Linked DNA regions of Homo sapiens: regions 2 and 3 are each linked to region 1. Evidence: promoter capture Hi-C in 16 types of primary human blood cells and fetal thymus (Javierre and others, 2016). All regions are on one chromosome and are shown on one strand. The core of a region is centred on a gene start or on the middle of the fragment in contact, and the rest is flanking DNA. Distances in the headings are between cores, read along the strand shown.

Region 1 (4,082 bases), core at 437-2,936:
AGAACTCTACCTGCCTCAAAAGGTAGAGGAGCGTCCATCCCACGGGCTACCACGGTGACCCCTTCCAGTGAAAATAGGAAAAGAATTCAAAATACAAAATGAACTTTAAAAGGGTGTGTGTGTGAACTATCTTCTGTGTCAATTAGCCTTATGAAGACGTAGGCAACAGGACTGGTCACGTGTTGTTTATACTTGAATCTGTACGTCGGGCTCACAGCATTTAGGCATTGAGAAACGAAACCCTATCAACGCTGTGCACTGACCAAAATGATATTTTCTTTTATCGAGGCAACTAATTAACAGGGATCTTCCCCCTCTTCCCTCTGAGTTGTACATTTTTGCCGAATTTGAGTAGTATGGGTCTTAGATCTCTTGTAATTGTGAATGACTTAGTTTGGTTAACCTTTGATAAGGACTTTTTTCCCCGACTTTTTTTTCTGATCTAAAGTAAATTGAAAAGCCAGTCGGTTGTTTTCTAATCTCGATGATGTGGAATTTTGCTATTCTTTCCATCTGGCTGATAACTAATGTTAAGCTTACTTCTTCACTTTGATCTTCTGTTGGCTTAGTGCTTATTGAAGCCCTTTTAGGTTGGGGCCTGGAATCCTCAAGAGGTTGTTTTCTGTCAGTAACTCGGGAGTGCTGTGGCCTTTCTGTTGAGCATGCTCTGTAGTCCACACGTTTCCACATAGTGGTGTTTTCTTTGCACAGTTTTGTAGGAAGACTTTATGAGTGCTGTAACTCTACTCCCCTTTTTGCTCTCATAAGAAGCATTATAAAATGTTAACTTATGTTATTCACAGGGCATGTAAGGAGATGGGAAGGAATAGAGGTATCAGTACATATGTCCATGCTCCTCCATAGATTTTCTTCTGGTTGGTAGAAATGTTGAGCTTTTCATTCCTAAACATTGAACATTGAATGTGCAAGGTGAATTCCTAGAAACTTGAATGCAGTCTTAAAAGCCAAATGATAACATTGGTTTTTCCAAAAATGTTACACATTTAGAAAAGAGTCCCCCTTCCCCTCTTCTCTTTGCCCACATTCCTAAGACAAGTAAGGCCAGGAAAAAGGATTGATCCTGGTGTCATAAAATATGAGTGAAAATTTCAAAGTCCTTTGTTAGCTTAATCTTTTCAGTTTTGTAGAGTTTGAATAGACCAACTGATACTTAAATAACTCAGTATTAGAAATGACAGGTTGATCTCAAGTAATTTTTTTTTGAGACAGAGTCTCTTGTCACTCAGGCTGGTGTGCAGTGTCACGATCTCGGCTCACTGCAACCTCCGCCTTCAGGGTTCAAGTGATTCTCCTGCTTCAGCCTCCTGAGTAGCTGGGATTACAGGCGCGCCCCACCAGGCCTGGCTAATTTTTGTATTTTTAGTAGAGATGAGGGTTCACCATGTTGGTCAGGCTGGTCTCGAGCTCCTGACCTCGTGATCCCCTCACCTCGGCCTTCCAAAGTGCTGGGATTACAGGCGTGAGCTACCGCAGACGGCCGATCTCAAGTAATTTTTTTTTTTTTTTTAAGAGACGGAGTCTCGCTGTGTCGCCCAGGCTGGAGTGCGGTGGCGCGATCTTGGCTCACTGCAAGCTCCGCCTCCCGGGTTCACGCCATTCTCCTGCCTCAGCTTCCTGAGTAGCCCACGCTGGGCTAATTTTTGTATTTTTAGTAGAGATGGGGTTTCACCGTGTTAGCCAGGATGGTCTCGATCTCCTGACCTGGTGATCTGCCCGCCTCGGCCTCCCAAAGTGCTGGGATTTACTGGTGTGAGCCATTGCGCCTGGCCACTTTTCCCCAGCTTTCTTAAGTCACTGCGCAGAGGTGAGAGGAAAAAGGAAAAGTGATACCCAAAATAAAAGGACATAGTATACTCATATGATTATTGTATCGCAGGTGGCATTGCCTTTATGTTCTTGTTTAATTTTTTAAAACTGAGATAACTTGTTAATCATAATATAGTACAGCTTGTACTTGTGACCTGAATTTACTTAGGGTGCTGAGCGTAATTAACCTGATGGAGCCATGTCATCTATCAGTATGGTTGGAAAGAGAGAACAGACCTAAGCTCTGAATGTGACTAGAGCAGAGGAAGCTATGCTGAAATTTTTTTTTTTTTTTTTTTGGGACGGAGTCTCGCTGTGTCGCCCAGGCTGGAGTGCAGTGATGCGATCTCGGCTCACTGCAAGTATGCTGAAATTTTTAAAACTTGATAGATTCTTCAAAAGGCCAGGTGTTTGTTTTTTTGGTTTTTTTGTTTTTTTTTGGTTTGTTTTTTAATTGATGCCTGTCACAACTCCAGAAAATTCTGTTTGTGTAGCAGTTGACAATCTAAAAAACAAATGGTCTTTTCCAGACATTCTCAACTGTCGTGGTTGTTTTGATAACTTGAAAGCAAACTGTTTCTAGCACCCATCTCTTGTCCTTCCTAAGGAGAAAACTATCTCATTGAAATAAAGAAAGGCTTGTTTTATGACTGGTGCCTTTCTGGACTCTCATTTAGTTTTTTACACTGACATCAGCCTCCTCAAGATTGGTCGTCTTTTAAGCACTAGTTTGTTTCATTATTTGTACCATCAAAATATGTGAGAAAAGGAAAAAAAAAGGAAAAATTATCTTAATATTTTAGAACACTGAATTCAGATTTCAAGTGTCAAATGTTTGCAAAAAAGTCCCAATATTCTCTGAAAACATTGGATTTCTCTTATGTAAAATACCATTTAGACAGAATGAAAAAAGAGAACTGTATTTGGAGTGCTGAGACCTTGAAATTGGAATCTTCGGACCTGGTGAAGGTGTGGAATCCAGGAGTTGGGAAAGTGCTGCAAAAGCTTCACCAGTGGGTGGGTTAATAAAAATAATTTCGAATATCTGTGTAGTGCTGTGTGTCAGGTACTGAACCAAGTATGAAATGTAATCCTAGAACAATTCATTGAGAAGAGAGTTGTACTTTTAACTACATTTTATAGATGAGCAAACTGAGGCATAGAGAATAAATAACTTAAAAAGGGCCACACAGCTATTAAGTTGCAGAACTGGGGCTTTAACCCAAGTAGTTTGGGTTTGTACTCAATTATTTTTCAACGGTTGACCTCCATGGAGAACGCCTTGGATCTTTTCCAACAAAAATTTTTAATCTTCTCTATTGACATTTGTAGCATTGGGAGATGCAGCACTCCCTAAGTTAGTAATGTACAATTTGAATGTGCTTCCTACAGGTGAATGATTTATAGCCGCACTGCCCCTCCTGGAGGGAGACCTATCATTCCTTCATTCCTACTATATAATTTATTTTATTTTTAGTTGGCAAATAATTGTATGTATTTGTGGGCTACAATGTGATGTTTCAATCTATGTACACATTGAGGAATGATTAAATCAGGCTATTTACATCTGTCACCTCATGTACTTATTTTTTTTGTGGTGAGAACATTTAGAATCTTTAGCAGTTTTGAAATACACAGTATATTATTGTTAACTGCGATCATCAACATGCTGTGTAACAGATCAGTAACACTTATTCCTCCTGTCCAATGGAAACTTTGTACCTACTACTGTGCTTATTGTAGCAGGCCTTGCTAGCAGCCTCCTTCCCATCTTTTTATCCTTTCTTCCTTTTTCATCCACAGCTCAGTTAATTGCTGATTGGTTTCTTTATCACATTCAATAGTTCTTTAATCCTTTATTCGTTCCTCAGTCTCTATATTCTGCCTGGTTAACATTGGAAAAGCTTGCTTTGCTTCTATTTGTGTTTCCAGGCTACTCAGTGGGAGGATGCTACAAAGTACACACCTCTAGGAATGAAAACTTGATTTCAAAGTGAAATTAGACATCTATCCCCCCTCATTGCCTCCCCCCAAAAAGCCAAAACACTGCCATCAACCTCTGACATCTTTAAAAGTATTTGGGATTTTTTAAAAATTTCAACATTTCATACTTTTAATCTTGGTTCCTTATCCTTTAATGTTAATAATCAGAATCTGTAAAACAATTTCATGGTCACTTATCTCTTTATGAGTATTAAAGTAGTATTTACTTTGTAAATTTTCTTTGCTGATAGACTTTCAGGCATGTTTTGCTG
Region 2 (4,082 bases), core at 1-2,500, 7.1 Mb before region 1:
CTCCTTGGACGACTTAGTCCGGCTGCGGTGGGCCTTCGAGTCCCGGTCCTTGCGGCTGCTACTGCTGCTGGATGTGGCCGAAGCGCTTTTCCGGCGGCCGCCGCTGCTGCTGCTGCTGCCGCTCTTGGCGACCTCGGCCCGTTCCTCGCCGCTGTGGCTGTGGCGGCTGCGGGACTTGGAGGCCTCGCTGCCACCGCGCTGCCCATCCCGCCGCCGGTGCTCGCGGTGGCGCTCCTTGCTGCGGCCACTGCTGCTGCGGCGGTCCCGGCGGGGCCTGCGCTCCGACCCCTCCCCGCGCCGCTGGGTGCCGGAGGAGGAGGCCGGACTCCCGCCGCTGCCCCCCGTTCCCCCGGCAGCCGTCGCCGCCGTTGCCGCGCTGGCCCCCCCCAGCAGCAGCCCCTGCTCGGACTGGGAGCTCACATCCTCGTATTCCACCAGCGGGGTCACACCCCCGCCGCTACTAGCACCGCCACCGCCGTCCTGCTGCGGCTGGGGCAGCGAGAAGACCCGACGCTTCTCCGCCTCCTGCCCGGCGCGGGGCCCGCGACGCCGCTTCTGCCGCCCTCCTGCGCGCCTCTTGCCTCTCGCCAGCCGCTTGACCTCCAGAGGGGGGCCCGGGCTGAAGCAAGAGGAGGAGGCCGCGGCGGCGGCGGCTGCGGCGGCGGCCGTGCCGGGAGCAGCCAGGAAGAGCAGAGGCGGCGGGGGCGGCGGCGGTTGCAGGAGCTGCGGCTGCAGGAGCGGCAACAGCAGCGGCGGCTGCTGAGGGGACAGGAATCGCCTCCGCTTGCGGCGTTCCTCCAACTTCTTCTCCGCCCAGCTCAGGCCCCCGCCTCCCCCCAGCGCCGTGTCCGAGCTGCTCGGCATCGCCTAGAGCCAGCCGCAGAGCGCGGCGCGGGTGCGGCCTCCTCCCGGGTCAGATCCTGGCCATCTCCCCCGCCGGAAACGGGAGCGGCGGCGGAGGGACACCGAGCACCAGAGCCGGCCGGGAAAAGCGCCACGATAATCCGGGTCGGGACTCGGGTCCCTGGGTTCCAGGTCACAGTGGGGTACGCAGCAGCCTCCGGGCCCCAGGGAAGCAGGAATCCGGGCGGCGGAGCTCCCGATTGCGCTCGTCGTCCTATCCTCGGCAGCGAAAACACCAGATGCGCCGGGCGCTGACCTGCGGGGGAGTCCCGAGTCCTCCAAGTGCCCCCGGGGGTGGGGGAGCGGCCTTGGCCGCGCTCTCGGCTCGGGCAGCGCAACGCGGAAGTACCACCTTCGTCGCCGCTTCACTCCATCGCGCCCTGACGTTGGGTGCAAGTTCAGGGGAGGGGAGTGGGCGAGACAACAACACGCCTCCACCGCCTCCTCCTCGGCGTCGACGTCGTCCTCCTGTGGTGGCGGCGACACACCGCAGGCGCCTCGGAAGTGGCCTGGGCCTGACAACAACTCCCGGCCTAGGGCCTCGCGCACTCTGCGGCCCGCGGGGCTGGGCAGCGGGGCGGGGCGAGGCGGGGGCGACCGGGCTGCGGCTCTCGGTTGGGGCAGCGACTGTGCGGGGCTGGGCGGGGGGCTATTTCCGGGGAGATGGGGGCAGGGGCGTTTCTGAGTCTGTGGCGGTAGGTACGGGCCCTGACTTTCTTCTTCTTTCGCCGCCGCCGCCGCCGCCAGCAGAGGTGGCGGAGCTACCCCTTTCCTCCGCTCCCCCCCTCCACGAGGAGGCTCCTGGTGTGCGCGGCCTGCCCCGGCTCGCTCCTCCCCTTCCCTCTCCGCTCCTCGTCAGGAGGAGGGAGAGCAACGGGACTTGCTGGTTGGGCCCTAACCTCCACAACCCCTCCTTCTCGCCTCGCTCTTTCGGCTTTTCCCCTCAGCCCTGACGTACGACCGGGAGCGCGCCCGCAATTCACGCTCAGAGAAAGCCGAAGATGAGAGGTGGCCGGGGCAAGAGAGGCGGGAACAAAGTTACCGCGCACTGGCGTGCTCGCTCCCGCCAGGGGCCGGCAGGCCGCACCGGAAGTGGCATGATGTAGAAACCGCTCGGCTTCCGGCGAGGGTGGGACTCCGTGTGAAGAAGGGTTAAAGAAAGGAGAGGATTCGTGTGCCGCCCACTGCTGTTGCTTGAGACTCTGCCCGTGGTGGCGCGCCTGTCGTGCTTGTTGCTTGCGTCCAGCGCGCAGTGCCGGTTCCGGCTCTGCAGACGCCGCACTGCCTGCCTGTTGAGCGAAAGGTCACAGTGAGAACAAGTGTTTCTGGAGACTGCGAGGGAAATAATGCTGTTGGTGGCCTTCTGGAGTAGGCAGTTACCCCCCGTGTACCTTCAGTCAAGCCCTGGGAGTGGAACAGCTGCGAAAGGAGAGAAAACACCCCGCAAAACAGGGTGGAGATGGCGTTGGTTTAACTTGTCTCACGTACGCCAAAGTTCGAGGCCCCATTTTTTTTTTTTTTTTTTTTGAGACTGAGTTTCGCTCTCGTTGCCCAGGCTGGAGTGCAATGGTGCGATCTCGGCTCACCGCAACTTCCGCGAGGCCCCTTCTTATCCTAAAAAACACACTTGGGAATCACAGCTCAAGCTTCGGTAACACTATTTACTTTAAAATAAAAATTTTTAAAGCTTTAAATCAATACAGGAAATAAGTGGAATGTTAAAAGGAACTACTGAAAATTCCAAATTCTCAGGAGGCTTGAAATAAAAACATCTTGTGCGAATGAGGACTGCCCTCTTAGTACTTCACCCACTTTCACCTTCATATCTAAACCTTTGGGGTTGCCAAACATAGCCATATAGTGACCTCACATCTCATTTCTTGCCTTAGAATTGCCCTTCAGTTACAGACTAAGCACTCGGGATAATTAGATTAAAATGTAAATGGCTTATTGGCTTTTAGAATGGTTGGAAACGCAAGCTAACCCTGTGCAGTGGCACACGCCTGTAGTCCCAGCTACTCCGGAGGCTGAGGCAGGAGGATCTCTGGAGCTCAAGAGTTCGAGGCTGGAGTGAGCCATGACCGTGCCACAGCACCCCAGCCTGGCCAATCAGCAGGGCGAGGCCCTGCCTCTAATAAAAGAAAAAGCTAAGCCGTCTGTTCAATGACTAAATGTAGTAACCCCTTTGAAAATTCATTTGTTCAGATCATCAGTTGGTTTAGTTCTTAAACACTTGGTATCTATCCATCGTTAATACCTTAGTGTAAATTATTTTAATCAGTTTGACATCACAGTATCACAGACTGGCCTGATTTAAGCTAAGATCAGACTTCACTGACCGAGTACAAAGGATGTTGGTTTGCTGAAGGATAAAGGAGGAGGCAAAGGAATAGGTAATCTTAAAGTCAGAGCATTTCCCAGGAGGGCAGGCCTGGGTGGGCAACACCATGGGATGGGCATTGGGAAACTGAATAGAAAAATAGGGGGCAGGGTTCCTAAAACAAATTTCTGGTTGACAGTATTGTTGAGTGAAGGTCCTGTAGCCAGCCTCCTACCAAAGACTGTTTAGCAAGTGGCTTTTTCAGAAACATGTAGGATCAACTTGTTCCATCGTCCTACGTTAGATAGACTGGAATAACAGAACAAAGAGAGCAAATAAGAGGTTTAGCTTGCAGCTCCCCTCGTGTACAACCAGTTCCACTTGAGAATGTCATCTTCTATCATATATTTTCAAAGAAAACTTGATCCATAGTAAATGGATAATTCCCATGTGTAAGTGTATTAAATGGAGAAGAAGGGAAAAAAAGTAAATGGATAGTTCCCAATCCAGGGTGCAAACAAAAAACATGTACTAAAATATTTTTACTGTGGTTCTACCACCCACGTTTCCTCAAAGATTCTACCTTTGGTGGGGGAGGTTGAATGAACATTTTGAGCTCAAGATACCTGCCCACGTGGTTGGAAACACTAATAACTAATAGGATTCAAACTCCAAAAAATGGGAAGGACCTTTGAATTAGAAGCCGTCTGTTTCTATAAGCCTGTCTGCTTGCCTGAATATTAAAGAGATTTGAAATTCCCATTTACGACTATATTTTTGTTTATTACTGCTTGTGTGTGGGGGGGTGGGGAGTTCGTGTTTTGTTTTGTTTTTGTTTTTGTTTTTTTTGAGACAGAGT
Region 3 (4,082 bases), core at 1-2,500, 6.7 Mb after region 1:
AGGCCAGCCGCGAGGCCACCGCCCGACCCTCCACTCCTTCCCGCAGCTCCCGGCGCGGGGTCCGGCGAGAAGGGGAGGGGAGGGGAGCGGAGAACCGGGCCCCCGGGACGCGTGTGGCATCTGAAGCACCACCAGCGAGCGAGAGCTAGAGAGAAGGAAAGCCACCGACTTCACCGCCTCCGAGCTGCTCCGGGTCGCGGGTCTGCAGCGTCTCCGGCCCTCCGCGCCTACAGCTCAAGCCACATCCGAAGGGGGAGGGAGCCGGGAGCTGCGCGCGGGGCCGCCGGGGGGAGGGGTGGCACCGCCCACGCCGGGCGGCCACGAAGGGCGGGGCAGCGGGCGCGCGCCCGGCGGGGGGAGGGGCCGCGCGCCGCGCCCGCTGGGAATTGGGGCCCTAGGGGGAGGGCGGAGGCGCCGACGACCGCGGCACTTACCGTTCGCGGCGTGGCGCCCGGTGGTCCCCAAGGGGAGGGAAGGGGGAGGCGGGGCGAGGACAGTGACCGGAGTCTCCTCAGCGGTGGCTTTTCTGCTTGGCAGCCTCAGCGGCTGGCGCCAAAACCGGACTCCGCCCACTTCCTCGCCCCTGCGGTGCGAGGGTGTGGAATCCTCCAGACGCTGGGGGAGGGGGAGTTGGGAGCTTAAAAACTAGTACCCCTTTGGGACCACTTTCAGCAGCGAACTCTCCTGTACACCAGGGGTCAGTTCCACAGACGCGGGCCAGGGGTGGGTCATTGCGGCGTGAACAATAATTTGACTAGAAGTTGATTCGGGTGTTTCCGGAAGGGGCCGAGTCAATCCGCCGAGTTGGGGCACGGAAAACAAAAAGGGAAGGCTACTAAGATTTTTCTGGCGGGGGTTATCATTGGCGTAACTGCAGGGACCACCTCCCGGGTTGAGGGGGCTGGATCTCCAGGCTGCGGATTAAGCCCCTCCCGTCGGCGTTAATTTCAAACTGCGCGACCGTTTCTCACCTGCCTTGCGCCAAGGCAGGGGGCGGGACCCTATTCCAAGAGGTAGTAACTAGCAGGACTCTAGCCTTCCGCAATTCATTGAGCGCATTTACGGAAGTAACGTCGGGTACTGTCTCTGGCCGCAAGGGTGGGAGGAGTACGCATTTGGCGTAAGGTGGGGCGTAGAGCCTTCCCGCCATTGGCGGCGGATAGGGCGTTTACGCGACGGCCTGACGTAGCGGAAGACGCGTTAGTGGGGGGGAAGGTTCTAGAAAAGCGGCGGCAGCGGCTCTAGCGGCAGTAGCAGCAGCGCCGGGTCCCGTGCGGAGGTGCTCCTCGCAGAGTTGTTTCTCGAGCAGCGGCAGTTCTCACTACAGCGCCAGGACGAGTCCGGTTCGTGTTCGTCCGCGGAGATCTCTCTCATCTCGCTCGGCTGCGGGAAATCGGGCTGAAGCGACTGAGTCCGCGATGGAGGTAACGGGTTTGAAATCAATGAGTTATTGAAAAGGGCATGGCGAGGCCGTTGGCGCCTCAGTGGAAGTCGGCCAGCCGCCTCCGTGGGAGAGAGGCAGGAAATCGGACCAATTCAGTAGCAGTGGGGCTTAAGGTTTATGAACGGGGTCTTGAGCGGAGGCCTGAGCGTACAAACAGCTTCCCCACCCTCAGCCTCCCGGCGCCATTTCCCTTCACTGGGGGTGGGGGATGGGGAGCTTTCACATGGCGGACGCTGCCCCGCTGGGGTGAAAGTGGGGCGCGGAGGCGGGAATTCTTATTCCCTTTCTAAAGCACGCTGCTTCGGGGGCCACGGCGTCTCCTCGGCGAGCGTTTCGGCGGGCAGCAGGTCCTCGTGAGCGAGGCTGCGGAGCTTCCCCTCCCCCTCTCTCCCGGGAACCGGATTTGGCGGCCGCCATTTTCATGGCTCGCCTTCCTCTCAGCGTTTTCCTTATAACTCTTTTATTTTCTTAGTGTGCTTTCTCTATCAAGAAGTAGAAGTGGTTAACTATTTTTTTTTCTTCTCGGGCTGTTTTCATATCGTTTCGAGGTGGATTTGGAGTGTTTTGTGAGCTTGGATCTTTAGAGTCCTGCGCACCTCATTAAAGGCGCTCAGCCTTCCCCTCGATGAAATGGCGCCATTGCGTTCGGAAGCCACACCGAAGAGCGGGGAGGGGGGGTGCTCCGGGTTTGCGGGCCCGGTTTCAGAGAAGATATCACCACCCAGGGCGTCGGGCCGGGTTCAATGCGAGCCGTAGGACAAAGAAACCATTTTATGTTTTTCCTGTCTTTTTTTTCCTTTGAGTAACGGTTTTATCTGGGTCTGCAGTCAGTAAAACGACAGATGAACCGCGGCAAAATAAACATAAATTGGAAGCCATCGGCCACGAGGGGCAGGGACGAAGGTGGTTTTCTGGGCGGGGGAGGGATATTCGCGTCAGAATCCTTTACTGTTCTTAAGGATTCCGTTTAAGTTGTAGAGCTGACTCATTTTAAGTAATGTTGTTACTGAGAAGTTTAACCCTTACGGGACAGATCCATGGACCTTTATAGATGATTACGAGGAAAGTGAAATAACGATTTTGTCCTTAGTTATACTTCGATTAAAACATGGCTTCAGAGGCTCCTTCCTGTAATGCGTATGGATTGATGTGCAAAACTGTTTTGGGCCTGGGCCGCTCTGTATTTGAACTTTGTTACTTTTCTCATTTTGTTTGCAATCTTGGTTGAACATTACATTGATAAGCATAAGGTCTCAAGCGAAGGGGGTCTACCTGGTTATTTTCTTTGACCCTAAGCACGTTTATAAAATAACATTGTTTAAAATCGATAGTGGACATCGGGTAAGTTTGGATAAATTGTGAGGTAAGTAATGAGTTTTTGCTTTTTGTTAGTGATTTGTAAAACTTGTTATAAATGTACATTATCCGTAATTTCAGTTTAGAGATAACCTATGTGCTGACGACAATTAAGAATAAAAACTAGCTGAAAAAATGAAAATAACTATCGTGACAAGTAACCATTTCAAAAGACTGCTTTGTGTCTCATAGGAGCTAGTTTGATCATTTCAGTTAATTTTTTCTTTAATTTTTACGAGTCATGAAAACTACAGGAAAAAAATCTGAACTGGGTTTTACCACTACTTTTTAGGAGTTGGGAGCATGCGAATGGAGGGAGAGCTCCGTAGAACTGGGATGAGAGCAGCAATTAATGCTGCTTGCTAGGAACAAAAAATAATTGATTGAAAATTACGTGTGACTTTTTAGTTTGCATTATGCGTTTGTAGCAGTTGGTCCTGGATATCACTTTCTCTCGTTTGAGGTTTTTTAACCTAGTTAACTTTTAAGACAGGTTTCCTTAACATTCATAAGTGCCCAGAATACAGCTGTGTAGTACAGCATATAAAGATTTCAGCTCTGAGGTTTTTCCTATTGACTTGGAAAATTGTTTTGTGCCTGTCGCTTGCCACATGGCCAATCAAGTAAGCTTCAGCTTTCAGTAATTGTTATCTTAGAGATTATGCCACGTGAATGTATTTTATTGTACATATGGTTAAGCTGAGTAATTCATATTCTGTATTGTCATATATCAAATATAGACATGTCCACCAAAAATTAAACTTTTTAAGCTTCGAGTGCTGCTGGTCATAAAAATTAATTTGTCCTGGTTATAAGAGTAATTTTTAAGGTTATTTCTAATGCATATCTTTAAATATTTTCGTAACTGAGAGTCATATGGAGAAACTTAGTGTTTGTTGTAAAAAGTTGTGTTTTTTTGGCTGAGATACTTAGAATCACCACCAGAGGGGGCAGTTAAGGGAAAATAAATGATACTTTTCAGATATTGAATAGTGAAATAAAAACTTTGGGTCATAAGTAATGAACCAAGAGTTATTTTCTGATGTTTAAAAATAGAAATTTGCGTTTTTAGGTTGTAGGGTTGAAATTTTTGGTAAAGATTCTTTAATAATCCTTTGATAATCACGGTCTACATTTGTTTATTTTTCCTTAGAAAGTTTTTTTTTTAATTAATAATTTAAGATAATTTAATGTTGAGTAAATTTATATCAAGCATTAATGACTTTGAAACTTGTGTAGATCAGCTGAGGCAATTTTTTGGTGTAACACAACTAATATGCAG

What was found. The method cuts DNA at HindIII sites, captures the fragments that hold promoters and counts their contacts. A CHiCAGO score of 5 or more calls a contact.
Region 2: a contact is called between the fragment with the promoter of CDK13 here and a fragment that was not itself captured in region 1, in 1 of 17 cell types (fetal thymus). The highest score is 7.7, in fetal thymus.
Region 3: the fragment with the promoter of HNRNPA2B1 here is called in contact with a fragment that was not itself captured in region 1 in 1 of 17 cell types (non-activated CD4 T cells); the score reaches 5.9 in non-activated CD4 T cells.

The regions. Positions count from the first base shown.
Region 1 is chr7:32,886,739-32,890,820 of GRCh38, reverse strand. The region is part of intron 1 of KBTBD2 (kelch repeat and BTB domain containing 2); the gene reads left to right. Among named protein-coding and RNA genes, the nearest start is that of KBTBD2, 3.0 kb to the left of the region's middle. RefSeq lists an enhancer at 1,536-2,061. The HindIII fragment of the contact is 2,297 bases long and covers 538-2,834 here.
Region 2 is chr7:39,947,424-39,951,505 of GRCh38, reverse strand. It overlaps CDK13 (cyclin dependent kinase 13), which reads right to left and starts at 1,250. Exons shown (of 14, transcript NM_003718.5): 1 at 1-1,250. The coding sequence starts at 864. CDK13-DT (CDK13 divergent transcript) reads left to right here and starts at 2,087. Exons shown (of 1, transcript NR_158201.1): 1 at 2,087-3,985. RefSeq lists enhancers at 1-42, 1,183-1,462, 963-1,881, 1,933-2,182, 2,253-2,382 and 3 more and silencers at 253-312, 383-672, 1,463-1,692. The HindIII fragment of the contact is 3,453 bases long and covers 1-2,551 here.
Region 3 is chr7:26,197,914-26,201,995 of GRCh38, reverse strand. HNRNPA2B1 (heterogeneous nuclear ribonucleoprotein A2/B1) reads left to right here and starts at 1,250. Exons shown (of 11, transcript NM_002137.4): 1 at 1,250-1,424. The coding sequence starts at 1,419. It overlaps CBX3 (chromobox 3), which reads right to left and starts at 251. Exons shown (of 6, transcript NM_016587.4): 1 at 170-251. RefSeq lists a silencer at 1-366 and enhancers at 1,307-1,696, 862-1,834, 1,807-1,926, 1,835-2,808. The HindIII fragment of the contact is 8,290 bases long and covers 1-3,430 here.